Linked DNA regions of Homo sapiens: all the other regions are linked to region 2. The links are contacts of gene promoters, found by promoter capture Hi-C in blood cells and fetal thymus (Javierre and others, 2016). All regions are on one chromosome and are shown on one strand. Each heading gives the region's core, a stretch centred on a gene start or on the middle of the fragment in contact. The rest is flanking DNA. Distances are from core to core; before and after follow the strand shown. Region 1 holds the start of LOC107984216 (a long non-coding RNA gene). Region 2 holds the start of LYZL1 (lysozyme like 1). Region 3 has its middle 40 kb from the start of BAMBI. Region 4 overlaps WAC (WW domain containing adaptor with coiled-coil). Region 5 has its middle 13 kb from the start of LINC01517. Region 6 holds the start of LOC105376470 (a long non-coding RNA gene). Region 7 holds the start of BAMBI (BMP and activin membrane bound inhibitor).

Region 1 (2,700 bases), core at 185-2,684, 850 kb before region 2:
AGACAACATTTTTCTCTATATTTTACTTAAAAATAACTTCTATTGCTTTTGCTGTTGTTAATCTCTAAGTGATGCATGTGTACTGGGAAGAGGCTGAAAAACATTGAATAGAATAAAGACAAATAAAAAATCACACTTATTATTACTACTTACAAATGACCACTTGATAGTTTGATGTCACCTTCCTAGGTCAATGTGTATGTGAATATATTTTTAGGTTCTTGGCTTGCTTTTTAAAAGTGGGATTATGCTGAATCTACTATTTTCTAGTAGGCTTTTTCGCTTAACAGCTTGTTTTGAGTATTTTCTTATGTTATTAAGTAACCTTCTCTAATATTAAAATAATGAATCAGTGGAGGAAATGAAGAAATAAATGTTTAATATTAACCATAAGGCTCATGTTAACTGAGCTACATCCCATTTCACCAGCTTCAAGTACAAGATGAAGTCAAATATCTCTTGTTTTTTGGTTTTTTGTTTTGTTTTGTTTTTTTGAGACAGAGTCTCTCACTCTGTCACCCAGGCTGGAGGGCAGTGGCACAATCTTGGCTCACTGCAACCTCCGCCTCCCGGGTTCAAGCGATTCTCCTGCCTCAGTCTCCTGAGTAGATGGGATAACAGGCGCGCACCAGTATGCCTGGCTAATTTTTGTATTTTTAGTAGAGATGGGGTTTCACTATGTTGGCCAGGCTGGTCTCGAACTCCTGACCTCAAGTGATCTATCCACCTCGGCCTCCCAAAGTGCTGGGATTACAGGCATGAGCCATTGTGCCTGGCCATCAAATATCTCTTAATAGTCAAATCAAGCTTCTCTGAAACCTCATCTTGCCAGTCGAGTAATTTTTTTCTCCTCTTCAAGGGTCTTCTCTCTCATTATAACTTGAAGAACCCCAAGAATGCTTCAGGTAAGAGATGAGTCTGGGCTACCACTGCCTCAGGTGAAAAACAGCCAAACGCTCTGCATGAGCTAGGGATTGCCAGCTGCTGTAACAATTAACCCCCCATACAACACAAGGTTATTTCTTACTTGCTTAAGAGTTCAAACCTGTGCTCCCTGTTGGGTGGGGAAAGTGATGGGGAGCAGCTCTGATTTTGGTCTCTCTAGACACTGGCATCCAGCCAGCAGAAGAGGGAAATGCCTGGAGGATCCTCATGTGAGATCCTCGTGGGACTTCCACCATATCCTATTGGCAGGAGTCACTCCCACGGCCATACCTCATTGCCAGGTAGGCTGGGAAATGTGATATGACTCTGTGCCCAGGAAGAAGAGAATGTGAATTTTGGTAAGTACTATTTCTATTTCTATTTCTGCCACCTTCTACTCTTTTGGCACCAAATGCAGACAGTCCTTACTTATAATTTTTCAACTAATTATTTTTTGACTTTATGATGGTGCAAAAGCAACATGAATTCAGTAGAAACAGTACTTCAGGTATTCACACAGCCATTCTGTTGTTCATTTTCCATACAGTACTCAATAAATTACATAAGATATTTAACACTTTCATATAAAATCAGCTTTGCGTTAGATGATTTTGTCCAACTGCGGACAAACATAAGTGCTCTGAGCATGTTTAAGGTAGGCTAGGCTGAGCTATGATTTCAGTAGATTAGTTCTATTCGATGCATTTTCAACTTGCGATGTTTTCCACTCACAGTGGGTTTATTGGGATGTAGCCCCATCATAAGTGGAGGAGCATCTGTTCTTGTTTGCAGCTTTCTTCCTACAGCAGAGAACACACCCATTCCTCTACTGCCTGCAGCTCATACTCCAGAACCTTGCTCTGATTCACAGTTCTCATCCTCAGGTTTGGAAAGAGACCTTTGCAGTCCAGTGATCTATGAACTACAATTTAAGTCATCGCTCCTCCCTCCTTTCCCAAGCACTGGGCACAAAAGTAAAACACAGTGCCAGACCTTGAGGGATCCAAAAACACATCTCAATGTTCAATCATCATGGAAGAATGAAAATTGTTCTACTAAACCATGTGCCAGGCTGAGCGGGAGCTCCAGGGAGGAAAAACAAGTGCCTGAGAAGGTCAGAGAAGATTCTCATTGGAGTTAAGCTTGAAAACTGAATTGGGGTTTTCCAGGAGGCCACAAGGCCAAAGGATTTTCCACTCTCAATAAACACTCTGTAGAAAGTAGTAACAGCTAATTACAGACAACTTTAATCTCTCTCTTGCCAATTTCCAGAACTCAAGTTTTAAGTAGTGAGTGAACATAAATTATCTTTTTGACAGGCAGGCTGCTCCTGCATCTGCTTTGGTTCTGTCTGGAATCTTGGAAGCTTTCCTTACTACACTCTTCCACACAGTTGCCTCTAGAGTTTACTAGAATGTTCTAGCAAGAGGCACAGACACTTACGCACCCTGGACTGAAGAAATGTGCTCCTCTGTCTGGGAAGGCAGCCTGCTCCGCCAGTGGGCCGTTCAAGGAAGGAGGCATGTGCAGCAGTGACTTGGATAGGATGCTACCCAGATGGGCAGAATCTACCCTGGCCATCAATGGGGTGATCAGCGTTGCAGCCACATCACCCTTCCATCCAGCATTCTTCTTTGGCTTTAGGTGTCTTCACTCTTAATAGCACAAAAGTTGAGGAGGTGTCTCTTCCAGAATAGAGTGAAAACTGCCTGTTGTTTGCCCCAGTGTGGTGGCTCACACCTATAATCCCAATACTCTGTGAGGCCAAGGAGGGAG
Region 2 (2,808 bases), core at 250-2,749:
TAATAATATTGACTCTTCAAATTCATGAATATGGTGTGTCTTTTTCATTTACTCAGGTCTTCTTTAATTTTCCGTCTGTCTTATAGTTGTCAGTATATATATCCTGCACATATTTTGTTAGGTTTAAATTTAAGTACTTCATTTGCATTTGTGTACTATTGTAAATGGATTTTTTTTTATTTCAAACTCTTATTTTCTATTCCTAGTATATAAGATTGTAAATGGCTTTTGTATATTTACGTCATATCTGAAAACTTGCTAAGCAAGCATTTTTGAAAAAGAAAAAGACAATCCGTCTCTATTTTCTCACTGGTAAGATCCCTATTTCAAAGCATTTTGAAAAAGATGTTTGAGGGAAAAACCTATACATTTTCTCATATTATAGACTGTTCACAAGAAGTCCACTAATGGCTTCTAAAGATAAAAAAGACCCTCAAGCAGCTTGAAATAACGAAAGTTGAAATTGAAACTCTGCTGAAAAATTATGTTTCATCTCTAATATTGAGAAATATTGAAACATTTGATAACACAGTGTGCTATCTTCCTGATACAAGCCCATGTGAAAGGCAATTTGGCAAATATCTAGCAAAATTACAAAATTATACCCTTTGATCCAGCAAGATATTCTTGTAAAGTTACAAATGACATATGTACAAAATTACTGGTTGTAATATGTTTACAATAGAAGAATAAAATAAGTGTGCATCAATATGAAATTGGCTAAGTATGCTATGTTGTATCTGTATAATGCAATACTATATGAACTTCAAAATAGATTTCAACAAAACCTTTGCATTATTGGCAGATGGAATTTAAGAAAATATAACGATTAGTTAGGTGCAGCCAACAATAAACTTCTACTTAGATCTACATATTCTAATGAGAATTCATTTCAAATGTGTCACTAAATCTGAACATTGAAATAAATAGACCTTGAAAACAGCCCTTTAGTTATTGATTCACAAAGTGTTAAGCCAAATTTTTCAAAAATAATAAAATCATGTTATTACAAAAATATTTTATTAATAATAATTTGACTATAGCAAATGTGCTGTTAATAAATTTTTAATGTTAATTTCACCTCTATGTCATTAATTTTCAAATTTTAGTTTTATGTATGTTGATAATTTATGTAGCATATTAGTACTGAGGTACAGAAGTATGATTTATAACTCAATGTACATCTAAAGAGGATACATGCTTAACTTTCTTTATTAATGGAATTTGTGATAAAGTTTGCAGACGCCTCAGAGAAGAGCTCTCACTTGGACAGGAGGCCCTGGCCAAGTTGTGTAATGAGGAGGGTTGTTGAGGGGAAAAGACAAAAAACAAGAGGTATTAAGCCCCAGAAGACAGTTATCACCTGCCTCAGAACACAAGCATGCAGGATGATACAGCTTTTAGTGCCAAGAAGTAGAATTCTAGCATCTCTAGGTGGTGAGAAACAAAGGATTAAGAATTTTTCTTTCTCTAACACTCTAAAGAAATGTTCTTGAGCTAGGAAAGGATTACTCGCGCCTCGTTAGAATCAGACATGGCTTCAGGGGATGCAGGACGCTCCCCTGAGCTGCCTGTCACCGACTAAGTGGAGCAGTGTTTCTTCCGCAGACTCAACTGAGAAGTCAGCCTCTGGGGCAGGCACCAGGAATCTGCCTTTTCAGTAAGACCTAAATTACTCTTATGAGAACCAGCAATGGCAGGTTCTTGAAGGATGTAGAACATGATGCTTGGGGTTATCATTGCTGCGGGTTTTCTTTGGACTTGTTTGAGATCAGTAAAATTCTAAGGCAGGGGATGGAAACCAACTCTATTTGTAAGCTCTGTATCTTTTTTTCTTTTTTCTTTTCTTTTTTTTTTTTTTTTTTAGACAGGGTCTCTCACTCTGCTGCCCAGGCTGGAGTGCAGTGTCACAATCATGGCTCACTATGGCCTCAAACTCCCAGCCTCAAGTGATCCTCCCACCTCAGCCTCCCCAGTAGCTGGGACCACAGGCACACACCACCATGCCTGGCTAATTTTTGTATATTTTGTAGAGGCAGGGTCTACCTTTGCTGCCCAGGCTAGTCTCAAACTCCTGGCTTCAAGCAATCTGCTCACCTCAGCCTCCCAAAGTGCTTGGATTACAGGTATCACCCACCATGCCTGGCCTTAGCTCTGCATCTTAAACCTCGTTTGTCTGTCCCTCACAGCTTAACACAGTGCTGTACACAGCGGACTGGCATGCTCTCTCTGAAAAGGGCCAGATAATAATATGTTAGGCTTTGTGGTCTATACGGCCTCAAACACAATTACTGAACTCTGCCACTGTAGTTGGAAATCAGCCACCAATGATATATTACCAAATGGGTGTAGCTATGTTTCAATAAAACTTTACATACAAAAGCGGGCCTGGTTTGCCCACGCTTGCTATTCACGTTTGTAATGTACATGCCCCTCATGCAATGCAGTTCCTTACCTTATTGCTTAGTCACCTTAAAGCCCTGCTTGTTACTTGGTGCGGTGGCCTTGCTGATGACTACTTATCCCTGTTTTGGGCCTAGCCTTTCAATGCAGGAATCCAGCCCCAGGGAGAGAAACTAATGACTGGAGAAGTTTCTAGGCAAGTGCAGAAAATGACACGGGATGAACATATGTAAGAACATCAAGTTCAGGATCCCGAGTAGTTGTCAGAAATTTCACTTCACCCCATCCCAGCAAGGCTGTTGTATTTGGGGAAGACATTATTTCAAGAGGGGAAGAGATTGTGGAAAATCAGTAGGCAGCAGGAGACAGCTCTCTTGATCCTACTCCCATTTCAGATGATTCCGC
Region 3 (2,732 bases), core at 6-2,505, 650 kb before region 2:
GGTGCCTGTAATCCCAGCTACACAGGAGGCTGAGGCAGGAGACTCACCTGAACCTGGGAGATAGAGGTTACGGTGAGCCAAGGTCGTGCCACTGCACTCCACCCTGGGCAACAGAGCAAGACTCTGTCTCAAAAAAAAAAAAAAAAAAAAAAGGAAAGAAAAAAAGAAAGTGACTGAGTGAGGTTTCAGAGAGCAGGGTCCAGCCTTAGACTGGATATGACAGTGCCCATGAAGCTGCAGGAGTGACCTCCCACGAGGTCCTGTCTGTACCTGCAGGCCTGCACGGACTCAGGGCGGCTTGTGTTGCAAGTGTGCATGGAGCAGGGTTTCTCTATCCAGGCATGCTACTGGGCTGTTCCGGTCAGGGGGTTACTGCAACACCTGCCAAACACACAAAACCAGGCTTGTGAAATAAGATAAAGAACCCACCTTTGTTTTTTGAGCTCTTTTTCAGCCCTCCCTGTTAGACCCCAAAGTCACCCATAAATCCAGTGAGGTTGACTGCTCTTATATCTCAGGAATTCCTGAGTAGGGCAGAGCAGGTGGGACTGTGCTTCTGTAGGCACTGACCACAGGCCTTCATCTCAGCTTAAAAGCCATGAGCATCTTGGGGAGGGCGACCCTGCAGCCTGGTTTGCTTGGCAATGTTCCACTTATGTCTGTTGAACTGGCACCTCAAGTAACCCTAAATTTCCCTCTCAAAAGTGTTTCTATCATGGGTGCAGTGGCTCACGCCTATCATCCCAGCATTTTGGGAGGCTGAGGCGGGCAGATTACCTGAGGTCAGGAGTTCGAGAGCAGCCTGGCCAACATGGTGAAACCCTGTCTGTACTAAAAATACAAAAATTAGCCAGCATGGTGGTGCATGCCTGTAATCCCAGCTACTCAGGAGGCTGAGGCAGGAGGATTGCTTGAACCCGGGAGGCAGAGGTTGCAGTGAGCCGAGATCATGCCACTATACTCCAGCCTGGGTGACAGAGCAAGACTCTGTCTCAAGAAAAAAAAGAAAGAAAAAAAAACCAGTTTCTGTTTGGATGATAAATTACATGGCCACTGTGAGGGTACTAGTACTGTGTGTTACTGGCTGGGGTCCCAGGGTCCTGGTGAGACTCATGTGTCCTTACCCATCGGGCTGCTAGCCTGAGCGGATCACCTGGTCCACACCAGCGAAGATTTCATTGATTGGAAGAAGATCTGAATTAAGCTGTGACTTGTCCTTGCTTCCAGAGGAATTAGTTTATTTATGAGATTAAACTAATCTGCACCTTCTGCTCCAAGGACTTAGAGTCGAACTAGCTGATTGTTATTTAGGTTGAACCAAGCCAACGTATTCAGAAGGGCTGGGGAGAAGACACAGGGGAACGCAGGGAACATAGCCTCTGCCAGGAGCATTGTAGACAAAACAGAGCTTTCCGTCTTGGGGGAAAATGCAAAACCAAAATTGGATTTTTGGTAACTGCTCAGTCATTTCATGTAGAAGGACCACAATTATTTTTTTATGTTTTTGTGAAATGTTTTTTTCAAAGTGGAAAGTTACTACCACTGCAACCACCCCCAATTTAAAGTAAACACATGCTCATTAAAAAAAAAAAAAAAAAAAGCCAGATGCAGTGGTTCACAGCTATAATCCCAACAGTTTGGGAGGCCAAGGCAGGAGGATCGTTTGAGCTCAGAAATTTGAGACCAGCCTGGAAAACATAATTAGACCCCATCTCTACAAAAATAAAAAATTGGACATAGTGGTTCACAACTTTAGTCCCAGCTACTCGGGAGGCTGAGGTGGGAGGATCACTTTAGCCTGGAGTTCGAGGCTGCAGTGAGCTATGATAGTGCCACTGAACTCCAGCCTGGGCAACAGAGCAAGATCCCTGTCTCAAAAAAGAAAAAAAATTGCTTGAAAAATATTGAAATGTGTAAGGAGAAAAATAAAACATCCTTTATTTATTCTATTCAAGGATAACCATTGTTTATATATGTATGTATATATATACACACAGATATATCTCCAGATTTTTTTAATTAGTTAACTTATACAAACAAAATATATCTTTACAAAACTAGAATCATCCCATCCATATTGTTTTGTTAACTTCTCTTTACACTTAACATATAGATGGATATCATTGCATGTCAAGGAACATAGAACCACATGATGATTTTTACTGCCCACATATTATTCTAAGTACAGCAATATCATCATTTATTTCCTGACAACCACCTGTTGTTAGACATCAAGGTTGGTTTTTTTTAAAAGTTTTTTAATTAAAAAAAATTTTTTGGCCTACTTCAGTAAGCTAGTCTGGAGGCTTTTCTTAATTTTTTATAGTGCTTTAGATAACATTCTTATATATGTAACATTACTTGATTGTTTAGTGCTCAGGAGAAATTCTGAGATGCAAAATTGCTAGGCCAAAAGGAATATCTATTTTTAAGACTTTTGACAATGCCAAACTGACCTCCAGCAGTATGGACCAATTAATCTGGCCAGCAACATTGAAGAGAATGCCCTTTGTCACACCCTTTCTGGCCCAGGCACTGTCATTCTTATTATATATTGGTAATCTGATGAGTGAAAAATGATCATATAAAATGTTGACTTTAGGAAACTCTTTCTATAGGGAAGATCCTCTTTTTTTATTGATGTGTGTATTACGAATATTACTTCACAATTTATGACTTGTTTGTTTTGTTTTCCAAGATATTTAATGACAAGAAGAAAATTGCTTACAATT
Region 4 (2,700 bases), core at 147-2,646, 680 kb before region 2:
CAGTTAATTCCATATAACATACTGAACACTCACATATGAATAGGTTTCTGACATAATTGGAAGTTCCTGTGAACACTCGTTAAATTTTGTAGAGAGACTTTGTTCAGGTGATCATCTTAATTAGTGTAAAAGAAACTCTGTTGGTTTACCTTTATTGTAAACCCATTAAGTTTCTTTTTCTCTGCCTCAGATCATTTCAAATTTGGGACCCATTGTATTACTCCTATCTAGTAGGCTTTTATTTTGAGAGTTCTAGGTTGAAATATTCCAGTTTCTTGTGAGTTCTCTTCCTTGTCAGGTTGTTACTAATGCCACATAAGCCTCTTGTTTTTATATGAATGTATGAAATAATATGTTTTTAGTTCTTACAGCAGCTGTGACACAAGCCTCACTGCAGTCTATAATTCATAAGTTTCTTACTGCTGGACCATCTGCTTTCAACATAACGTCTCTGATTTCTCAAGCTGCTCAGCTCTCTACACAAGGTATTCTTACTCATCTTAGATATCTCTAGAATGGCATCTTGATTTTGTTTTGGAATTAATAGCCCTTTTTTGTATTTAGTTTTTTCTTTCATTTTTTTTTTTAGTTTTTTAAGAGATTAGCTACAATAATTTTGTTTTTTTTGTAACACTGGCATATACAGTAGTATTTTTATTTCCTTTCTTTTTAGATGAAGCAAGCTTTGACATTTGTCTTAAGGTATTGCCATCAAATCTGTAATTATTTAAGACAGTATTTAATTCAGACTTTGTTATTAATGAGTTTTTTTATGCCAAAGCTGAAAGTAAACTATGATGTGCCATATATCTTTGTGAAACATTGCATGTATTTGAAGAGTTGAAGTTTGGTTCAGATTGACGTTAGATGTTTTTTGACTGGATAATATGGAAATGCTCATTTTCTGCCTTGAATTAGATATCCCTCTTCATGAAGGTATCCAAATGGAGAGAGATACACATAGGAGCAAATGGGAAGTGAAAGGGTCACTTTGTCAGAAAGCTGATAAACAGCAGGAATGCCTTGTCTGGAATGGAAGTATAATGGTGCAAAGACTCTTGCAACCCTCTGGCTAGCCTCATGAGCAGGAGACTGCGTGGGATACCTGGGCCTAAATGTAGAATAAGAAAGAAGAAATAAGGATGGTGAGGAGGCCTTCCATGTGAGATTAGGTTCAGGCCTAGCTTCCTGTTCCAGCCACATAAAGGAGAGTGGGCCACACTGGGTGTGCTTACCTCTGAACACACAGCTCACTTAGTCAGTGTGGCCCAGTGAGAAGGTCAGATTCTGATTTATTCCAATAAGTGTTCTCTGGGTAATATGGGGGTGGGGGGGTTTAGAGTAATACAAATATCTTTGCCACATATATTACAAAGGACTTTAGTTTTTTGTTTTGTTTTGTTTTTCTTTAAAATTAATTGCTTCCCTCTTTTACAGCCCAGCCATCTAATCAGTCTCCGATGTCTTTAACATCTGATGCGTCATCCCCAAGATCATATGTTTCTCCAAGAATAAGCACACCTCAAACTAACACAGTCCCTATCAAACCTTTGATCAGTACTCCTCCTGTTTCATCACAGCCAAAGGTATGTCACCTTTGAGGGACATTCGGAAAAGAAACTACTTACTTTTGGAAAGTCAATAACATTTTAGAATCTGTTATAGAAAAAGCCCTCTGAGAATGAGGTGTAGTGGTGGAATGAATGACAGGTATGATAGTAGATGCAGCCTAGAATTTCTCAGTTCACTGAGGGATAGAGGGGGGCTTTGAATCTGTGCTACTTTAATAAACCATCTGAGTCTGTTCCCTAATGGTTTTGGGATTTGTCACATGGAGAGTGAGATAAAGAGGATATACTGAGTCTTAATATTTGTAGAATTTTCAAACTCCAAAAGACATGAATGAACATGTTTTCCAGTGACTTTTCCATATTTGTATTTCAAAAATGAGGCAGTTTCTGTGCTAAGAACTTAATGTATGTTTAGCTTTCACATCGTGAGAATCACTTGCTTTATTTAATAGATGAGAAAATCAAACTCTCAGTTAAGTTTTTGTGGTAGAGTCAGAATTTGAAACCTAGGTGTTTGTGAATACAGGGACCCATTTTACTAAGCTTATATTGCCTGTATTTGTCCCAGCAGAATCTTACATGGTTGGCTCCATAGGTGCAGTTAGAAAATTGCTGGTCTAAATGGTAAATGTAGGGGGAATTTCTTTTGAGTAGTTTTGAAACAGTGGGCTGTTTCAGACTTTTTAATGCCAAATAATTCTTTGTAAGATATTAAGCAGAAGCCCAAAAATAAAAATGCATTGAAATATAACTTGAAAGAGGTGGTTGGTCAGCTTTTAAGTCTTCCCGTTTGTTCATCCCTTCCCTACCTTGGCCATTGATCATTGCATGTTTTAGGGTCAATTTAGATTGATTTTTAAAATTCCAAGTTACAGTTGTTAGTTTATTATGCAGTTCCTTATCATTTGCCAGTATTTTAAGGAGGAAAGAATTAAAATGTGAGTTTTGGCAAAAGAGATGTTATTTTTGGAGCTTAGAACTTGTCTTCAGGGTGGCATTTTAAGAGTATAGTAAATAGTGGTTAAAAGTGAAATAAGTGGTAGTATTGGTTTTATAGTCACTTGTAAACTGAGCATTTCAACTCCTTTAAGAAGGCTGGGCGCGGTGGCTCACAGCTATAATTACAGCA
Region 5 (2,700 bases), core at 51-2,550, 560 kb before region 2:
AAATCTAGGCTGGGCACGATGGCCCACGCCTGTAATCCCAGCACTTTGGGAGGCTGAGGTGGGTGGATCACAAGGTCAGGAGTTCGAGATCAGCCTGGCCAATATGATGAAACCCTGTCTCTACTAAAAATACAAAAATTAGCCGGGCGTGGTGGCAGGCACCTGTAGTCCCAGTTACTCAGGAGTCTGAGGCAGGAGAATTGCTTGAACCCCGGAGGTGGAGGTTGCAGTGAGCCGAGATCACGCCTCTGCACTCCAACCTGGGTGACAGAATGAGACAAAACAAAAAACAAAAAAACAAAACAAAACAAAAATCTAGATGCTTTAATTCCTACTTCAATATTATTTTTCCTACATTTCCAACAATAAGGAATATCTAGAATGGATTGGTGATGCTTGATGAGTCTCTGGTTAAGATTTTCAAAATAAAATCTGTAGCATAGAATGAAACATTGAGTTTGTCCACAGGAACACGGCTCCAAGGGGACCTTTTCCTTGAAAGATCTCTGGAATGTTCACTTGCCCTAAGAAGGAACATCTCTGTTGCTTGTACATCAAAGAAAAGAAGGGAAAAGGAAAGAGGAGGCCAGGCATGGGGGCTCACGCCTGTAATCCCAGCACTTTGGGAGGCTGAGGCAGGCAGATCACCTGAGGTCAGGAGTTCAAGACCAGCCTGGCCAACATGGTGAAACCCCGTCTCTACTAAAAATACAAAAATTAGCTGGATGTGGTGGCACAATTACAGCCTGTAATCCCAGCTACTTGGGAGGCTGAGGCACGAGAATCGCTTGAACCCGGGAGGCAGAGGTTGCAGTGAGCCAAGACCGCGCCATTTCACTCCAGTCTAAGCAACAAGAGTGAGACAAAAAAAAAAAAAAAAAAAAAGAGCAAAAAAGTCGTGGCTCAAGGCAAGATCGGGTGGTAAATAAGAGTTGATCTGGATTTAGAGCTAAGGTCCTTTTGAGAATTTTCTCCCTGAGGCCGCAGTTGAAGATTCATTTTGGGGTTGCCCTGTTCAGCAAGGAGGCTCTGAGGAGTGCAAGGGTGTGGGGACTTCTAAGAATGTGTTTTTTGAGTCAAAATAGAAACTTTTCCTTACATTCTGACTCACAGGGGATTAGAAGGTAGTGCATGGATTAGACGAAAATGCCTCAGTTAAGAATTTAATCCTGTTAGGCAACAGTAAGTCACTATTTTTAAAGGGTTTTGTGCCAAAAAGTAGAAAGGAAAAAAAAAAGTGGCATCCACAGTTTGCAGGAGATAATTGTTTCTAAAGAGCTGCTTGCTTGAGGCCTCTTGAATGCTACATTTTCTTCCAGGTTCTTCTAAAGAGAATAATGGGTTTAAATTGGGGGTGTGAGCGCTACCTTGGCTAGGGGTTACCAGTGGGGCTGTTTTGGCTTCAGGTGATGCCCAGGGCTGGAGCTGGAAGAGATGAGAGGAGCCAGGAGTGAGGGATTCTGGCTTCCTATCCTGTTGTCAGAGTTCAGTTATGCAGGGGAATGAGACAGAAAACGAAACCAAATGTTTACACTGATTTTGACTTTGTAGACTTGACAGTCGATTAAAATCCGTCCAGTGCCTTTTTCCTTTCCTTTTCCTTTCCCCTTTCCTTTCCTCATTCCTTCCTTCCTTTTTTTTTTTTTGACAGAATCTCGCTCTGTTGCCCAGGCTGGAGTGCAGTAGCGCAATCTCAGTTCATTGTAACCTCTGCCTCCTGAGTTCAAGTGATTCTCCTGCCTCAGCCTCCGGAGTAGTTGGGATTACAGGCGCATGCCACCACCCAGCAAATTTTTGTATTTTTAGTAGAGATGGGTTTTCGCCATGTTGGACAGGCTGGTCTCGAACTCCTGACCTCAGGTGATCCCTCATCTTGGCCTCCCAAAGTGCTGGGATTACAGGCATGAGCCACCGTGCCCGGCCTGTTTGCTTGCTTGCTTTCTTTTCTTTTCTTTCTTTTCTTTTCTTTTCTTTCTTTTCTTTTCTTTTCTTTCTTTTCTTTCTTTCTTTCTTTTTTCTTTCTTTCTTTCTTTCTTTCTTTCTTTCTTTCTTTCTTTCTTTCTTTCTTCCTTCCTTCCCTCCCTCCTTTCTTTCTTCTTTCTTTTCTTTCTTTTTTTCTTTCTTTTCTTTCTTCTTTCTTCCTCTCTTTCTCTCTCTGTTTCTCTCTCTCTCTCTTTCTCTCTCTGTCTTTTCTTTTCTTTTCCTTTTCTTTCTAGACAGAGTTTCACTCTGTCACCCAGGCTGTAGTGCAGTGGCATAATCTCGGCTCACTGCAACCTCTGCCTCCCAGATTAAAGCAATTCTTGTGTGTCAGCCTCCCGAGTAGCTGGGATTATAGGCCTGCACCACCATGCCTGGTCAATTTCTGTATTTTTTGTAGAGATGGGGTTTCTCTATGTTGGCCAGGCTGGTCTCAAACTCCTGGCCTCAAGGGATCTACCAGCCTTGGCCTCCCAAAGTGCTGGGATAACAGGCGTGAGCCACTGCGCCCAGTCTTCTTGTTTCTATTGTTACAAGACTCATTTTGAAGGGTAAGGACTTTGCTTAAGATCTGTTTTGTTTTTCCCTTTCTGTTGTATTTATTTATTTTGTGACAGAATCTTGCTCTGTCACCCAGGTAGGAGTGCAGTGGCATGGATCTCAGCTCACTGAAACCTCTGCCACCTGGGTTGAAGCGATCCTCCCACCTCTGCCTCCCAA
Region 6 (2,700 bases), core at 54-2,553, 580 kb before region 2:
AAACTATGCCTTTCGATAAGACATTGAATCCCTATTGATAAAAATGGCGTGGCAAGAGTTACATTTTGATCTGTTCTCAGTTATTATACTTTAGTGCATGCAAATAGGTTCTGTTCTTTTTTTTCTGTCGCTTCTTTTAAGAGACGGAATCTTGCTCTGTGTTGCCCAGGCTGGAGTGCAGCGGCACAATCATAGCTCACTGCAGCCTTGAACTCCTGAGCTCAAGTGATCCTTCTGCCTCAGGAGCATCCTGAGTAGCTGGAACTACAGGCATGCACAACCATGACCAGTCAATTCCTCAATTTCTTTTCTTTTCTTTTTCTTTTTCTTTCTTTCTTTTTTTTTTTTTTTTTTTGTAGAGATGAGTGGAGTTCTTGCTATGCTGCCCATGTTGGTCTTGAATTCCTGGCCTCATGTGAGCCTCCCACCTTGGCCTCCCAGAGCACTGGGATTACAGGTGTAAGCCATTGCTCCTGGCCCTATTTTTTCTTGAAAGTGAAGAGTAGAGGATAAAGAAAGGAACTGGGTGGGATAAATATTGGAGATTCAAGCAAGGGGAGAAAAAGGCAGATGTGTTGGAAAATGATAACTTCTTCACCCTTCAGCCTAATATAGGAGCTTCTGGAAACCAAAATACTATACAATCAAGTGACAATGTAACCAGGTTGCAACCAACCTGTAACCAGCTTGGTTTTTTTCTTTTTTGAGATGGAGTCTTGCTCTGTTACCCAGGCTGGAATGCAGTGGCACGACCTCGGCTCACTGCAACCTCCGCCTCCCGGGTTCAAGCTATTCTCACACCTCAGCCTCCTGAGTAGCTGAGATTACAGGCGCCTGCCACCACGCCGGGCTAACTTTTGTATTTTTAGTAGAGATGGGGTTTCACCATGTTGGCCAGGCTGGTCTCAAACTCCTGACCTCAAGTGATCTACCCACCTCAGCCTCCCAAACTGCTGGGATTACAGGCATGAGCCACTGCACCTGGCCTAAATAATTTTATTAGTATTAATTAATTAGTTAGTTTAATTTTTAATTTTTTTTCCCGAAATCTCTTATCTGTCACCCAGGCTGGAGTGCAATGGTGCAATCTCAGCTCACTGCAACCTCCACCTCCCAGGTTCAAGTGATTCTCCTGCCTCAGCCTCCTGAGTAGCTGAGATTATAGATGCACACCACCATGCCCGGCTAACTTTTTGTATTTTTAGTAGAGATGGGGTTTCACCATGTTGGCCAAGCTGGTCTCGAACTCCTGACCTTGTGATCTGCCTACCTCAGCCTCCCAAAGTGCTGGGATTACAGGCATGAGCTGTCACACCTGGCCAATTTTTTAATTTTTAAATTAAATTTAATTAATTAATTTTTTTGAGACAGGGTCTCACTTTGTCATCCAGGCTGGGGTACAGAGGTATGATCACAGCTCACTGCAGCCTCAACCTACCGGGCTCAAGTGATCCTCTGGCCTCAGCGCCCCCAAGTAGCTGGGACTACAGGCATGAGCCACCATGCTAAGCTAATTTTTGTATTTTTTTATAGAGATAGAGTCTCTCTATATTGCCCAGGCTGGTCTTGAACTCCTGGGCTCAAGCAATCCTCTTGCCTTGGCCTCCCAAAGTGCTGGGATTAAGGTCATGAGCCATCGTGCCCAGCCTTAAATAATTTATCTTTCTCCCTCCTCCCTCAGCCTAAGGTAATTATCAAATGAAATAATTCATCAGAAAGAGTTCTGTGACATGTAAAGCCCTGTAATAATGTGTTGGTAATACTATGGTGATAATGGATATTTTTCACAATGGGTATGCATGTGACATGCTGAGTTATGGAGGTATGGACTCAAGGGACAAGGAGTGAAATTGCCACATGTCTCAGGTTGGGGTGGGGGCTTGGGGTGGTAGCTGTGATCAGGGTGCTTGGGGTGGTGGTTGTGGTCAGGGCGAAGGTTGAGGGGAGGGATCTAGACAGCCTGGCCATATTGTTTTTGGAAAGAGCGCTATACAATGTTAATTTCTTCACTGATGAGTCAATGGATGAATGAAAGGATGTCTTCTTTAAACTGCTGCACGTTGGTGGGTAAGTGAATCTGTCCAAGGTAGATGGGAGACTGAAGAGTCAGGGAGGTCAATCTGGTGGGCAGGGGGGCCCATAAGTCAGGCAAGCCTAAGTCTGCTCCTTGAGCAGGTTGCTCAGCCTCTGTGTGGCTCATATCAGCTATCTCAGAGGGTTAAATAAAAAGACATACACAAAGAGGTCGGGCACGGTGGCTCATGCCTGTAATCCCAGCACTTTGGGAGGCCGAGGTGGGCGGATCACCTGAGGTCAGGAGTTCGAGACCAGCCTGGCCAACATGGTGAAACCCCATCTCTACTAAAAATATAAAAAATTAGCCGGGCGAGGTGGCACACGCCTGTAGTCCCAGCTACTCAGGAGGCTGAGGCAGGAGAATTGCTTGAACCCAGGAGGCGGAGGTTGCAGTGAGCCGAGATGGAGCCACTGCACTCCAGCCTGGGCGATGAGAGCAAAACTCTGTCAAAAAAAAAAAAAAAAAAGAAGAAGAAGACATACGCAAAGTGCCTGGCACAATTCTTTGCACAGAGTAGCTACTCAACAAGTGGCTATTACTGTTACCACTGAGGCAGAGTTTACACATCATCTCATCTCAAGCTGCCACAAGCAGACACGATTATCTTCTTGTGAAGAAATCTC
Region 7 (2,700 bases), core at 184-2,683, 610 kb before region 2:
TAATTTTCTTTTAAAACTTCTACTGGATTTCTCCTTCTCTCCTTTTAGATGCAATTTTGATCTAGAGAAGTAATGGTCTGAGCATCAGTTTATGAAATTATTTTATTTTTCTGCACATAAACATTATTTTTCAAAGACAATTTCATTAACTACATCCTGCAGCTCTGCAGACTTTCAACAACTTTAAAAGGTTAGGCGTTTGAGATATGTTCGCCTTGACTTTCAGTCCTCAAGACATATGTACATTTTTCTTAGTCTCAAAGCTCATGTCTGCACTCTAGTCCTAAAGGATTTGTCTTTATAATTCTCACCTTAGCATGAAATGTGCTTCTCTTTCTTTCCTTCCCCACCCCCCACCCCCTTTTGACATATCCGGTAGGGAAGCTCTGGCAGATTCTCAAGAAGAATTTTGCAAATGGTCGACTTTTGTTCATCTCAGGTTTTGGAGGGAGAGGATAAAAGAACATTCCCTCAGATAATGAGTTTTAACCTTAATTCCTTCCAAAGCGGAGGGGGAAACAAAACTACAGCAAGACCACCTTGAGTACCTTGGGAAGGGCAGCCCCGCGATCCCTAATAAATGAATTAGCATCTCAAGGAGGAGATCACTGCGGGGCTGATATTGATCAGGGTCAGCCGGCGTGTTTGCCAGCCATTGTTTGGGGGGTGGTTAATTGAGTGTCAGTCTCGGCCAGTGTCGTCTCGTTGGCGCCGGGTGCTTTTGGATTTGCTAATTTTCGTTAAGTGTCTCTAGCCCGCTACTCGTCCCGCGTACCCGGGAGAACCTAGCGGCTCCTAACGGATCAACAGTCAGTCTGTCTGGGCTTTATTGATCCCATGGCGGGCAGCTCGAGGCGGACACGCTGAGGGGGTGGGGGGCGAAGGCTGAATGCAGACCCCAGCGCTGGGCCGCCTCCCCCGGGCTCCCACCCGAACCCTCCTCCGCCACCTGCACAGGCCGGGGCATTGTCACTCGCCCCTGGGGGTTCCAGAAAACGCAGTGCGGCCGGGGAGGACGACCACACGGACCCCCTGCGTGTTTCGGGGGGCACCCAAAAGAAGCCCCGCGCTGGGGAACGCTGACCACCCGAGGCTGAGCCGTCAGGGTCTCGGAGGCGGGTTCCCGAGCCGGTCCCGGGGCTGGGCTCCCCCGGCGCCTCGCGAAGGTCACTGACGCGCAGGCCTCCGCAAGGGGGAGCGCGGGAGACGGCAGCGCACCAGCCGGGCGCCCCAGCCGGGCGCCCCAGACGCCGGCGCCGCTCGGAGCCGCCGGGCAGGTCCCCCAGCGCTCGCGTCTGGGCCCGCCCCCCGCTGCGGGGCGGATTGACAGGAGCCCGGCGGCCAATCGGACGCCGTGGGGCGGGGCGAGGCGGGGCGGTGCAGGCCGGCTCCCGGCGCGGGGCGCTATTTACGGCGCGGAGCCGGAGAGACCTGGGCTGGCGCGGGCGGGAGCTGCGGCGGATACCCTTGCGTGCTGTGGAGACCCTACTCTCTTCGCTGAGAACGGCCGCTAGCGGGGACTGAAGGCCGGGAGCCCACTCCCGACCCGGGGCTAGCGTGCGTCCCTAGAGTCGAGCGGGGCAAGGGAGCCAGTGGCCGCCGACGGGGGACCGGGAAACTTTTCTGGGCTCCTGGGCGCGCCCTGTAGCCGCGCTCCATGCTCCGGCAGCGGCCCGAAACCCAGCCCCGCCGCTGACGGCGCCCGCCGCTCCGGGCAGGGCCCATGCCCTGCGCGCTCCGGGGGTCGTAGGCTGCCGCCGAGCCGGGGCTCCGGAAGCCGGCGGGGGCGCCGCGGCCGTGCGGGGCGTCAATGGATCGCCACTCCAGCTACATCTTCATCTGGCTGCAGCTGGAGCTCTGCGCCATGGCCGTGCTGCTCACCAAAGGTGGGTGCCGGGGGCGCACGGGGCCCGGGGTCCCGTCCTCGCCGCGGGGCTTTGGAGCCGGCTGCAGAGGCTTTGTTAGCGGCAGGCGAGGCTCCCTCCTGCGCCGGAGCCGCAGGTCGCGACAAGTTGCTGTGTTCTTAGAAGTCGCGGCGGTGGCCTGGCGCGTGGATGCGGACTCCGATCTAAGGGCAGGCGCTGATCAGAGGGTCCTCCTGGCTCTGCCTGCGGGGAGCGGCGCGTTTGCAGCCCAGCGGGGAGCGGGGCCGGAGTCTCGGCCTCGACGCCGCCGCTTCCGCACCCTGGGGGCTCGGGCGGCCGGGAGGAATCGCAGATCCTGGCCTGTAGCTGCCGCGTGCCCTCAGCGTGTCTGTGTGAGTGCCTCAGGGTGTATTTCTGTGAGTGTGTCTCTGAGTCTCAGTATCCCTAAATGCATTTTTGTGTCTCTGAGTGTCGTTGTGTTTCTGAAAGTGTGTCTGAACCTCTGTATCACTCAGCGTATCTCTGTGTCTCTTTGAATGTATCTCTGAATGCATTTCTGTGTCTCTTTCTGAGTCTTTGTGTCTCTGAATGTGTGAGTCTCTGTATCTCTGATCTTGAGTGTGTCTTTCTGAATGCATTTCTGTGTCTGTCTCTAAGTGTCTTTGTATCTCTGAATGTGCATCTGAGTCTCTGTGTGAGTGTGTCTCTGCGTACATCTCTCTGTGTGCGAGCGAGTGTGTGGGTCTCCCTGAGAGTTTAGGTGTCCGAGGTGTGCAGAAGTGTGTGTTGTGTTGCTTTTCAGCAGCCGGGAGGAGTAGGCTCTGTCAGCGTCTCA

Evidence for each region. The method cuts DNA at HindIII sites, captures the fragments that hold promoters and counts their contacts. A CHiCAGO score of 5 or more calls a contact.
Region 1: a contact is called between a fragment that was not itself captured here and the fragment with the promoter of LYZL1 in region 2, in 1 of 17 cell types (endothelial precursors). The highest score is 5.2, in endothelial precursors.
Region 3: a contact is called between a fragment that was not itself captured here and the fragment with the promoter of LYZL1 in region 2, in 4 of 17 cell types (M1 macrophages, endothelial precursors, megakaryocytes and 1 more). The highest score is 10.9, in M1 macrophages.
Region 4: a fragment that was not itself captured here is called in contact with the fragment with the promoter of LYZL1 in region 2 in 1 of 17 cell types (megakaryocytes); the score reaches 5.8 in megakaryocytes.
Region 5: a fragment that was not itself captured here is called in contact with the fragment with the promoter of LYZL1 in region 2 in 1 of 17 cell types (M2 macrophages); the score reaches 5.2 in M2 macrophages.
Region 6: a fragment that was not itself captured here is called in contact with the fragment with the promoter of LYZL1 in region 2 in 1 of 17 cell types (M0 macrophages); the score reaches 5.4 in M0 macrophages.
Region 7: a contact is called between the fragment with the promoter of BAMBI here and the fragment with the promoter of LYZL1 in region 2, in 3 of 17 cell types (endothelial precursors, megakaryocytes and M2 macrophages). The highest score is 9.0, in endothelial precursors.

What each region holds. Positions count from the first base shown.
Region 1 is chr10:28,440,350-28,443,049 of GRCh38, forward strand. All of the region lies in intron 1 of LINC02652 (long intergenic non-protein coding RNA 2652), which reads right to left. It overlaps LOC107984216 (a long non-coding RNA gene), which reads left to right and starts at 813. Exons shown (of 3, transcript XR_001747401.2): 1 at 813-905; 2 at 1,106-1,283; 3 at 1,809-2,024. It also overlaps the pseudogene RN7SKP39. The HindIII fragment of the contact is 1,259 bases long and covers 806-2,064 here.
Region 2 is chr10:29,287,571-29,290,378 of GRCh38, forward strand. LYZL1 (lysozyme like 1) reads left to right here and starts at 1,500. Exons shown (of 5, transcript NM_032517.6): 1 at 1,500-1,660. The HindIII fragment of the contact is 7,983 bases long and covers 1-2,808 here.
Region 3 is chr10:28,636,401-28,639,132 of GRCh38, forward strand. No RefSeq gene overlaps it. Among named protein-coding and RNA genes, the nearest start is that of BAMBI, 40 kb to the right of the region's middle. The HindIII fragment of the contact is 5,426 bases long and covers 1-2,732 here.
Region 4 is chr10:28,610,337-28,613,036 of GRCh38, forward strand. It overlaps WAC (WW domain containing adaptor with coiled-coil), which reads left to right. Exons shown (of 14, transcript NM_016628.5): 9 at 363-485; 10 at 1,438-1,586. Among named protein-coding and RNA genes, the nearest start is that of BAMBI, 66 kb to the right of the region's middle. The HindIII fragment of the contact is 1,431 bases long and covers 682-2,112 here.
Region 5 is chr10:28,729,108-28,731,807 of GRCh38, forward strand. No RefSeq gene overlaps it. Among named protein-coding and RNA genes, the nearest start is that of LINC01517, 13 kb to the right of the region's middle. The HindIII fragment of the contact is 7,767 bases long and covers 1-2,700 here.
Region 6 is chr10:28,706,135-28,708,834 of GRCh38, forward strand. It overlaps LOC105376470 (a long non-coding RNA gene), which reads left to right and starts at 1,895. Exons shown (of 4, transcript XR_001747282.1): 1 at 1,895-2,067. The HindIII fragment of the contact is 7,969 bases long and covers 1-2,700 here.
Region 7 is chr10:28,676,088-28,678,787 of GRCh38, forward strand. BAMBI (BMP and activin membrane bound inhibitor) reads left to right here and starts at 1,434. Exons shown (of 3, transcript NM_012342.3): 1 at 1,434-1,886. The coding sequence starts at 1,811. RefSeq lists silencers at 902-1,461, 2,187-2,331. The HindIII fragment of the contact is 30,480 bases long and covers 1-2,700 here.